Regions from separate parts of the Homo sapiens genome. Here regions 1 and 3 are each linked to region 2. The links are contacts of gene promoters, found by promoter capture Hi-C in human tissues and cell types (Jung and others, 2019). All regions are on one chromosome and are shown on one strand. Each heading gives the region's core, a stretch centred on a gene start or on the middle of the fragment in contact. The rest is flanking DNA. Distances are from core to core; before and after follow the strand shown.

The links. The method cuts DNA at HindIII sites, captures the fragments that hold promoters and counts their contacts. A contact is called where the count stands out against the background at its distance.
Region 1: a contact is called between a fragment that was not itself captured here and the fragment with the promoter of BBC3 in region 2, in 1 of the 25 tissues and cell types used here (aorta).
Region 3: a contact is called between the fragment with the promoter of PTGIR here and the fragment with the promoter of BBC3 in region 2, in 1 of the 25 tissues and cell types used here (adrenal gland).

The regions. Positions count from the first base shown.
Region 1 is chr19:48,100,296-48,104,047 of GRCh38, forward strand. The region is part of intron 4 of PLA2G4C (phospholipase A2 group IVC); the gene reads right to left. Among named protein-coding and RNA genes, the nearest start is that of PLA2G4C, 8.6 kb to the right of the region's middle. The HindIII fragment of the contact is 8,459 bases long and covers 1-3,752 here.
Region 2 is chr19:47,229,485-47,233,386 of GRCh38, forward strand. BBC3 (BCL2 binding component 3) reads right to left here and starts at 1,715. Exons shown (of 4, transcript NM_014417.5): 1 at 1,445-1,715. RefSeq lists silencers at 873-1,592, 1,733-1,962 and enhancers at 2,103-2,222, 2,932-3,555, 2,982-3,251. The HindIII fragment of the contact is 48,720 bases long and covers 1-3,902 here.
Region 3 is chr19:46,623,636-46,627,330 of GRCh38, forward strand. It overlaps PTGIR (prostaglandin I2 receptor), which reads right to left and starts at 1,454. Exons shown (of 3, transcript NM_000960.4): 1 at 1,362-1,454; 2 at 1-602. The coding sequence starts at 590. RefSeq lists an enhancer at 1,669-2,169. The HindIII fragment of the contact is 28,599 bases long and covers 1-3,695 here.

The DNA of each region.
Region 1 (3,752 bases), core at 77-2,576, 870 kb after region 2:
TGCCTGAGGTCAGGAGTTCGAGACCAGCCTGGCCAACATGGTGAAACCCCGTCTCCACTAAAAATACAGAAAAATTAGCCAGGCGTGGTGGCATGCGTGGTGGTGGGTACCTCTAGTGCCGGATACTCAGGAAACCCTGTCTCTACTAAAAACACAAAAATTAGCCAGGCATGGTGGCACACGCCTGTGGTCCCAGCTGCTCAGGAGGCTGAAGCAGAGGAATCGCTTGAACCCGGGAGGTGGAGGTTGCAGTGAGCTGAGATTGTGCCACTGCACTCCAGCCTGGGCGACAGAGCGTGACTCCATCTAAAAAAAAAAAAAAAAAAAAAAAAAGCTGGGCGTGGTGGCTTACGCCTGTGATCCTAGCACTTTGGGAGGCCAAGGTGTGCGGATCACGAGGTCAGGAGATCGAGACCATCCTGGCTAACATGGTGAAACCCCGTCTCTACTAAAAATACAAAAAATTAGCTGGGTGTGGTTGCAGACCCAGCTACTATAGTCCTAGCTACTCGAGAGGCTGAGGCAGGAGAATGGCGTGAACCCGGGAGGCTGAGCTTGCAGTGAGCCGAGATCGCGCCACTGCACTCCAGCCTGGGCAACAGAGCAAGACTCTATCTCAAAAAGAAAAAAAAAAAGAAAAAAAAGACTTTATATTCATTTGTTCACTCAATAAATATATATTATATATATTAATTTATAAAGAAAAGAGGTTTATTTAGCTCACAGTTCTGCAGGCTGTACAAGAAGCATGGTGCAAAAAGCTTCTACTCATGGCAGAAGGCAAGGGAGCTGGTGTGTCACATAGAGTCTATATATATATATATATATATATTTTTTTTTTTTTTTTTGAGACAGGTCTTGCTCTGTTGCCCAGACTAGAGTGCAGTGGCATGATCTTGGCTCACTGCAGTCTCAAACCCCCAGGCTCAAATGATCCTCCCACCTCAGCCTCCCAAGTAGCTGGGACCACTACCCACCAGGTGCATCACCATGCCCTGCTCATTTTTAAATTTATTTTCTGTAGAGATGGAGTCTCACTATGTTGCCCACGCTGGTCTCAAACTTGTGGCCTGAAGCAATCCTCCCACCTCAGCTTCCCAAAATGCTGGGATTATAGGTGTGAGCCACCGTGCCCGGGCTCAATAAAAATTTTTGATGTTCTTAATGCTGCTTATCGGGTGCTATCTACCCTCACACCATCCAATGTATTAAACATACATCATAGCTCTTGAGCCCCTGAAGTGTGGCTAGCATGATTTAAAATATTTATTTCATTTTAATTAGCTTAAATTTAAACACTGGTACTCCATTCAGTTATTGGGAAACTCTGAAGTATGTTTGGAACAAGCTGGGTATGAAAAGTTCTTTCCTTTAATATCTTTTTTTTTTTTTTTTTGAGATGGAGTTTCACTCTTGTCACCCAGGCTGAAGTACAGTGGTTCGAGCTCGGCTCACTGCAACCTCTGCCTCCCGGATTCAAGTGATTCTCCTTCCTCAGCCTCCCAAGTAGCTGGGATTACAGGTGCGTGCCACCACACCCAGCTAATTTTTGTATTTTTAGTAGAGACAGGGTTTCACCGTGTTGGCCAGGCTGGTCTCAAACTCCTGACCTCAGGTGATCCACCTGCCTCGGCCTCTTGAAGTGCTGGGATTACAGGTGTGAGCCACTGCCCCGGGCCTCCTTTAACATCTAATGAGACTTCTGCATCCAACTTGGAATGCGCTCAGTATAAAACGCCCAGCAGCTTTCAAAGACCTAGTCTGACAAAAGGAATGTCAAATATCTCATTAACAATTTTTTTCTTAACGATGTGTCAAAATGCTAATGTTTTGGATATATTGGGTTAAAGAAAATGGATCATTTCACTGTTTCTTTTTACCTTCTTGAAGAGGCTACTAGAAAATTTAAAATGGGCCGGACATGGTGGCTTACACCTGTAATTCCAGCACTTTGGGAAGCCAGGGCAGGCAGATCACCTGAGGTCAGAAGTTTGAGACCAGCCTGGCCAACACGGGGAAACTCCGTCTCTACTAAAAATACAAAAATTAGCTGGGCATGGTGGCACGCGTCTGTAATCCCAGCTAACTGGGAGGCTGAGGCAGGAGAATCACTTGAACCTGGGAAGTAGAGGTTGCAATGAGCCAAGATCGCGCCACTGCACTCCAGCCTGGGCGACAAGAGCAAGACTGTGTCTCCAGAAGAAAAAAAGAAAAGAAAAGAAAGAAAGAAAATTTAAAATGATAGAATAGATGTGGCTCATGTTACATAGCTCTACTTGATAGCTCAGGTTGGGACGATTTGCATGTGTTTCATCATTTAATTCTCAAACAGCCCTGTGAGATCAGCACAGTTTGTTGCTGTCACATGTAAACCTTTAATAAATGCTGGCTGCAAAAAACATTTGACTCTGATGAGGCCTTTCTCCCATCGTGCTCTCATTTTCCTGCCTGTGAAATGGAAGGACTGTCCCAGATGATTTTGAGTGCTCCTTTGAACTTGACCGTTCTGCAGTTATATTTATTTCATGTAAATTTTCCATTTCCTCTGTGTGTCGCCCTCTCCATGAGGCAGGCGTTCCTGTGAAGGACCTCCTCACACACATCCTTTCCCAGTCTTCATCGTCCACACTTACAATGCTCAACAGCGGAGGAAACCAAGGCACAAAGAAGTATGTCTGGGCTCGTAACAGCCCACAAAGGACAGCTCCAGGAACTAACCCAAAGCTGTTGAAATATAAGGCTTTCGTTGTTGTTGTTTGTAGAGATGGGGTCTTGCTATGTTGCCCAGGCTGGTCTTGAACTCCTGGGCTCAAGAGATCCTCCCACCTCGACCTCCCAAAGTACTGGGATTACAGGTGTGAGTCCCTGTGTCCAGCCAGGCCTGCCTTTTTAACCACAGCAGTCTCGGAAAGATTCCAGAAGAAATCATGGGGTTCCTATCTCAATAGCGCCCCCTGGAGTTCTGCAATGTGCAGTACAGCTAAACCCCCACGCCATGTCACTCAACATGTTAGATGAGCCTTGGAGGAATAGAGGGGTCCGGTGTGACTCTGCAGGACCTTTCCCACTCCCAAGCTCTGCAGCTCTGCTCTTCATGCTGTCGCCTCCAGGAACCTCATCCTCCACATCCAGCTCAGAACCCAGCTCCAGATCAAACTTTGAGCACAGAAATGAAAACAAATCAGGCCAGCCAGGCTCAACATTCATGCCTCTGCCCTGCCTATCTCACACTCGAGCCTCTGCTGCTCTGCCTAGCCTTACCTCCTGCTCTGAAAATGTGCCAAGATCGATTAGTCATGTCTGCCCTGGGCTTGGCAACAAACATGCAGACATGAGTGTTTCATACCTGCCATCTGGGGCCTCCTGAATGAGACAGTCCTACACGGATTAATGCAATACTTTATCATAGAGGCTGATAAGTTAAAAGGGCTGTATTCTATCCACCTGCAGTGTGAAAAGTGCACCTGAACATGTAAATCCTCCTTTAATGTCAGAAGGTAGTATTATTATGCTTTGTCCATGGCTTTGTGTAGCAAAGAAAGATACTTGGTGTTTTCCCCTGCTTCCTGGTGCAGAGTTCCTAAAACCCTTGGAATTTTCTTTTTTAGAAAAAAAAAATTTTTTTTTTGAGACAGGGTCTCTCTGTCACCCAGGCTGGTGTGCAGTGGTGTGATTGTAGCTCAATGCAGCCTCAGCCTCCCAGGCTAAAGCAATCCTCCTGCCTCAACTTCCTGAGTAGCTGGGACCATAGG
Region 2 (3,902 bases), core at 465-2,964:
CACACCCTACAGCTAACTCTAATCCCACACAGCCCAGCAGCACACACACCTAGCGCACCCACAGAAAACACTGGTCTCACGTGACTGACATAAACACTACACACACGCAGCCCACATGACACACATGAGCCAGCCGATCACAGTGACAAGCCCCTCAGACCCAACACACACACACACACACAGGCTCAGACACAACCCCATCCAGAGGCTGCCAGCAACACCCACCGTCTACACTGCATAGACCCCACAGATCCTGGGTCCTCAAATCCCAGACGCTGATGCCAGACACACAAGCCAAACCCAGACTGAAACAACCCCCCACCACACACATACATACACACACACACTCACACCTGACAACTCACACAGACACCTGGACAGAAAACAGACATTTGCATTTAGCAGGCGCAGCATCACAAACGCTGGGCAAAAGACACATGCCCCGGAGATACAGAGACGGCCTCAGCCAAGACAGAAACACACAGGCAAGACACAAGCACACATATCGCACGCTCGGGCAAGACACACACATAAACACACAAACAGCTCACTCCAGCAACACACACACACTACAACCTCCACACCCCAGCACACGCAGGCACCACAGACCCCCAGTATCATCCCGGAACAGCACACACAGACAACTCTCACCGACAACACACGCAGGTCCACCCACCCCACAAGCAGGGCACCCACAGACAGAACCCCACACAAACAGGCGCGGGGACTCACGCAGACACCCCGACGGGTCAGAAACCCCAACATTCCTCTGGATCGACACCACCACTCCCTGCAGAACCCAGCACAAACTCGGAGCCAGACACGCGCACACACCCAGGCGAGACACCTGCAGATCCACAACCCCGCACACGCGCGCTCCCACGGCGGTCCCAGACACCCCCCTCCGCTGTCACAGCCCCCCCCACCGCCGCCACGTGCGCCCGCCCCGCCCGCCAGGCGAGCGCGGGGCCAATAACCGGCTGTTGCTGGGGCGCAGCCCCCGCCCGCAGGAGCCGCAGACTCCACGGCCCGCGAGCCGCCCCCCGTCGCCGCCCCCAGCGGGCGCGCGCCCTGGGTGTGGCCGCCCCTCCGTGCCGCCCCCCCGCCCCTCCCGGACTTTGGGGGCTGGGGCACCCCTGGGGTCGACCCTCTTCCCCGGGGCCGCACTGGCCGCCAGGGGGCGCTGCCGAGCCCGCACCCCATTGTTTGTAAACAAACCCGCCAGACCGCCGAGGCACCTGTGCGCCCAGACCGGCGCCCCAACGCCGAGCCGCCTCTCACCCGGCGACCCTGGCCCAGGGTCCCTCGCGGGGTTTGGAGAGGCGCGGTGTGGGGAGGCAGGGCGCCCACACTGCTCTCCGCCTGCACTCCTGTCACCTCCTCCAGGGAGTCCACCCGGCCTGGCCGATCGCCGCCGGAGAGGATTCGGGGCGCGCACACTCACCCCGGGGGCATGAACACGCCGGAGGGGGCGGCGGTGGGGGGCGGGCGGCTTCCTTCAGGAGGGCGCGCCCGCCGAGCGCCGCTCTCCGCGGCGGCTGCTGCTGTGGCTGTCGCTGCTGCTGCCGCTCTAACTGCAGTGGCGGCTGCTGTGGCTGTGGCTGCTGCTGCTCCCCGGGCCGCAGGCGCGTCCGCGTCGTGGCCGCTGCTGGGATCGCTGGTGCCGCCGCCGCCGCCGCCAGGCGCCCGCTCGCATGTGGCTCGCGCCGCGTCTCAGGCCGCCCGGCGGATCCCGGGCCCGCTCCAAAGCCGCCCCGCCCCGCCCCGCCCCGCCCCCGCCCGGCGGGTCCCACGCCCCGCCCCCGCGTGACGCTACGGCCCCGCCCGCCCGCCGCGGACAAGTCAGGACTTGCAGGCGCGCGCCGCGCCCCCCCCTACCTCCGCGCCGGGGGTTTCCCTGCAGCGGGGGACGGGGCAGGGCCTAGCCCAAGGCAAGGAGGACCCAGGCGCTGTGCGGCGGGGTGTGGGGAGATCGCCCAGACACCGGGACAGTCGGACACACACACTGACTGGGACCCACAGATCCACACCCCCAGCGATGCGTACACAGACCGACCGACGGGCGTTCCAGGGTCCACAAAGTCACGTGCAGGCAGAGCCCAGAGGATGTACTCACAGACACAAGGCCACAGTCTCGCAAATCCACACCATGGACAGGGGCATGAGCACACACACTCACATACTGATGGGGCTCACACTTACACACACCCAGACGGAAATGCACAGACTCACTAACAGGGTCCCCTGGACAAGCAGACGGACACAATGACAGGGCCACACACAGTTGCAGAAACACCCACACTGATGATCACACCTGGGCCCACAAACTGTGTTCACAAACAACCCTACCGAACAGGCACCCACACCACACACACGGTGGTGCAACCACACAGACATAGGCGGAGTGCTTATCAGGAAACACAAACTTGCTGATAGGCACAGGGGACACACACATACACACAGACACCTGTTACAGGGATACCTGGATACACGGCCAAATCCAAATCACACTCCCACAGGGACATACACAAATGCACTCACACAATTTCACAGCTAACACATTAAAACTATCAGAAAGTGACATTCGCCCGACACGGTGGCTCATGCCTGTAATCCCAGCACTTTGGGAGGCCAAGGTGCGTGGACTGCCTGAGGTCAGGAATTCGAGACCAGCCTGACCAACATGATGAAACCCCATCTCTACTAAAAATACAAAATTAGCCGGGCGTTGTGGCGCATGCCTGTAATCCCAGCTACTTGGGAGGCTGAGGCAGGAGAACTGCTTGAACCCGGGAGGCGGAGGTTGCAGTGAGCCGAGATAGTGCCATTGCACTCTAGCCTGGGCAACAAGAGCAAACTCCGTCTTAAAAATAAAAATAAAGGAAAGAAACTGACATTCAGAGACACAAACCAAATCAGACATAGAAGAAACTGACCACCCACACATGTCACAAAGTCACACCTGTGACAGCTTCTTGCTAACTGGCCCACTGCACACACGTCGGAGCATGCACACCTGGCCACACTCACCACAAATCTGGCAGGGGACCCACGTCGTGGAAGCAGCCCTGGGCACCTGGCATGGACATGCCTGGGCAGACCCCATGCCAAATTTCATCCTGTCTCATAGCTTTCCATTCCGTTTCTTTTTCAGTTTCTCATTGTTACTTCCTGCCCTGCTCTGGTTTGGTGAGTTTTGTCCTTCCTTTTTCCAAAGCCGTGGATTCCTGTCTCCTCTACACTTTCCATCCTTACTGGGTCTCACCCAATCGCAATCGCCTCACCAGAGTGACTCACCTTCCAGTGCCTAGTGTGGGGCTGGCTGAGTAAGGATGTCAGACTTCTCAAACTTGACTGCCTCCAAGTACACACTCTTAGCTCCCCCAAGAGATGCAGGTAATCTATATCTCACGTGAAATCTCCCCATTTGCAACATTGGGAACTCCTCAGCTTTCCTCCCTCTTTCACTTTCCCTCCTCTTTCGCTTTCCCCGATTATTCATTGTCCCTTCCTTCTTCCTGGTGTTTTCCAAACTGTGGGTCATGAGTAAACCATGGATTATGACATATGACATCACTTACATGGATCTTACTTTTTTTTTTTTTTTTGAGACAGAGTCTCGCGCTGTCGCCCAGGCTGGAGTTCAGTGGCATGATCTCGGCTCATTGCCACCTCCGCCTCCTGGGTTCAAGCAAGTCTTCTGCCTCAGCCTCCCTAGTAGCTGGGACTACAGGTGTGCGCCACTATGCCCAGCTAATTTTTGTATTATTGGTAGAGATGCGGTTTCACCATATTGGCCAGGCTGGTCTCAAACTCCTGACCTCGGGATCCGCCTGTCTTGGCCTCCCAAAGTGCTGGGATTACAGGTGTGAGCCACTGCACTCAGCTTTTTTTTTTTTTTT
Region 3 (3,695 bases), core at 204-2,703, 610 kb before region 2:
GCCACCAGCAGGGCCACCAGGCCGGCGTAGGCCAGCGAGAAGGCGGCGCCGCCCGGCTGGGCCCAGCGCATGCGGAGGAAGCACCAGCTGCCGGGGCAGTACTGCTGGTGTTGGCCCAGGCCCAGCAGGGGCAGCGCGCAGAAGAGGACGCAGAAGGCGTAGATGGCTGGCAGCGCCAGGCGGGCGCAGCGGGGCCCGTCCAGCTGCGCGTAGAGGTAGGGGTGGCTCAGCGCCAGGCAGCGCTCCACGGCCATGGCAAAGAGGATGAGCATGGACGCCAGGCCGAAGAAGGTCATGGCGAAGGCGAAGGCATCGCACAGGGCGGGGCCGCCTCGGGCCAGGCCCAGCAGGGAGCTGTTGCGCGCATAGGCCACGAACACGGCCGGGCTCAGGAAGCTGGTGCCCAGCAGGTCGGTGGCCGCCAGTCCGGTCACCAGCACCGCGAAGGCCGAGGGGCGCGCCGGTCGCCGTGCGCTCAGGATGCCCAGGGCCAGCCCGTTGCCCACCACACCGGCCACGAACATCAGGGTGCTGGTGGCCGGCCCCACCGAGCCCCGCACGTAGGTGAGGTTCCTGCACGAATCCGCCATCCCAGGTCTGGGCTGGAGGGTTCCCAAGGTGGGGGGTCAGAGGGAGCCAGGGCTACCCCCACCACCCAGCCCACTCAGATGTCCCTGCTGGCCAGTCCTTTTGGCAGCTGGGGCCTCCCAGCCAACCCCCAGTTCTCCTGTGTGTGCGGGTATGCAGTCCTCTCCCCTCTGGCTTCTCCAGTATCTCTCTCTGTCTCTCCCCACCTTCCTGTTTCTCTTTCTCTCTTTCTTTTCTTTCGTTTCTTTTGAGACAGAGTCTCACTCTGTTGTCCAGGATGGAGAGCAATGGCATGATCTCGGCTCACTGCAACCTCCACCTCCTGGGTTCAAGCGATTCTCCTGCCCCAGCCTCTGGAGTAGATGAGATTACAGGCGTCCACTACCACGCCCAGCTAATTTTTGTATTTTCAGTAGAGACGGGGTTCCACCATGTTGGTCAGGCTGGTCTCGAACTCCTGACCTCAGGTGATCCATCCACCTTGGCTTCCCAAAGTGCTGAGATTACAGGTGTGAGCCACCATGCCTGACACCCACCACCCCCCCACCACCTCCTGTTTCTTTCCTTCTCTAGCTCTGTTTCTGCCATTAAAGAGACAGAGAACATCCGGGCATTGCCAGTTCTTTCCCTCCCTGTCTCTCGGTCTCTTGCTGATATCTCCCTGTCTCTGTCCCCTCCCTTGTCCTTGTCCTCCCCGTACCTTTCTCCCTCTAACCCCACACCCTCTACCTGCTCCTGCTCTGTGTTGCTGCATCCCCAGCCCCTCACCGCACCTCTCCAGTCTTGCCCAGGCTCTCCTGTCCCGTGCGTCTGTGCCTTCACTTGCTTTGCTCCTCGTGTCTCTCGCTGCCTGTGTCGGTCTGTGTGTCAGCTTCTCCTTCCCTCCTCCCTCCGTCCCTCCCTCCTTCCCACCCTCCTCAGCTTGCCTGCTCACCCCAGCTTTTTCATTTCCTCTCTCTGCCCCGCCCTCCCTCACTGTTCTCCAGAGGGCCCCCTGGCACACTCCCCACTCCCCGTCCACCCGCCCAATCCAGGACATCCATCTCCCATCGCTGCCTCCACTCTCCTCCCCACATCCTCTCTTGGTTCCCATCACTGAGCCACCTGCCACCTCCCCACACACAGGTCTCCTCCCTCCCCCAGTGTCTCCCTCTCTGGCCTGGGTGGGGAATTCCTGAGTCACCATCACTTAGGCTTGGAGCCTCCCGGGGTAGTAGGGGGCCTCTAGGAGGGACCTGAAGAGCACAGTTGACCAGGCTTCAGTGGGGTGGTCTTGGCCTGGGCTGTCTCAGGGTGGCCTCTGGGATCTATTCTGGGCTCCAGGCCCCGGGGCTGAGGACATTGCCCAGGGATTGAGAAATGACCAGGAAATTCCTCTCTGATGTAGTGTTTTCCAGACACCACTGAGAGTTCTGGTCCCTGGACACAATTCACTCCTTCCAGAAAGCTGAGGAAGGAGGCTTGGCCAGAGAGAGACATGCCAGTCCCTCGAGCCTGTCCCTGGGCACCCAGCTCACCCTGCAGAGACCCGAGAAGAAAGCATGAAGGGGTGTATTTGGTGTCCAGTTGTCAGGGACAGGCTTGGGAGACTTCCATGGCCCATGATGGAAAGGTAGCACTGGGCCACCGTCCGACTTCTCGCACAGCACCCCTAGGCCCCAGGCCAAGCTCTGGTGACCTTGACCTTCAGGAATCATATTTTGATCACAGGAAGCTGTCCACAGCTCCAACATTGCTGCCATGTGTCCCCCACCCTCCCCAAACACAGCCAAGCCACCACCGCTGCAGCCTCGGGCCAGTGTGACAGACCCACATGTTCCCGCTACCCGCACAGCGTTCACGGGTCTCCCTTCCCACGGAGTCGGTGGCTTCCCAGGCAGCCTCCCAGCCCAAAAGGGCCAGATAAAACCTCAGAGACCCTCTCTGAGCCCCGCTGTTTCTCAGGGGGACGGTCTCAGATCCATTCGACTTGGCTTCCTGTTTCCATCTGACCACCTTTTTTCTTGCTGCGAGATGGTCCCAGGTGAGGAGAGGGAGCTGGTAGACTTCAGCCTCCTTCTCTGTGCGTGGGGTAACACGGGCCTCAGGGACCTGGTGGCCAGCCTCGGCCTGCAGCACATCCCAGATTGGTCTTTGTAACAAGGAGAGAGGCTGTGCGGGTGTCTCTTGTCCAAGGCCAGGAGGGATGTGTCCAACCCAAGGACTGGACTGTGGGCAGCTGCCGTCTTGCCCTCTGTACCCCGGTGTGTGACCACAACCCCTTTGCCCCTCCCCCCCATCTCCCTATCACCCTTGCCCAGCTGGCACCCGCAGCTTCCAGCAGGATGGACGCCCAAGTTCCAGCCCCACCGTGGCTCCCTAAGGGACCCCCCAGCCCTGCTCTGGGGGTGCCTGTACATGTGGGCTCCAGGTCCTGCCACGTTGTCCCGCCTCATGCCGTGAGGTCCCCAGACAGACCAGAGGGAACTCAGGAAGTTATATCATATTAATGAAGGATGATGCCTGGCAGGCGTGCATCTTGTTTCGGCATCGGGGGGGCCTCTGGTTCCCGGAGACTCCCTCTCTCGCTTCCTGTTACAAGGACGGTTAACATTCAGGAAGTCCCCTCTGCTCCCATGCCCAGTGGGACCACAGTCAAACCCTTGTCCCTTCCAGGCCTCAGTTTCTTTTTTGTTGTTGTTTTTCTTTTTGCTTGTTTGTTTTTGTTTTGAGATGGAATCTTGCTCTGTCACCCAGGCTGGAGTACACTGGCATGATCTCAGCTCACTGCAACCTCCGCCTCCCGGGTTCAAGCGACTCTCGTGCCTCAGCCTCCCGAGTAGCTGGGATTACAGGCATGTGCCACTGCGCCCAATTTTTATATTTTTAGTAGAGGTGGGGTTTCACCATGTTGGCCAGGCTGGTCTTGAACGCCTGACCTCAGGTGATCCGCCCGCCTCGGCCTCCCATAGTGCTGGGATTACAGGCGTGAACCACCTTGCCTGGCTGTTCGTTTGTTTTTGAGACAGGGTCTTGCTCTGTCACCCAGGCTGGAGTGTAGTGCTGCAATCTCGGTTCACTGCAACCTCTACCTCTGGGGTTCAAGCGATCCTCCCACCTCAGCCTCC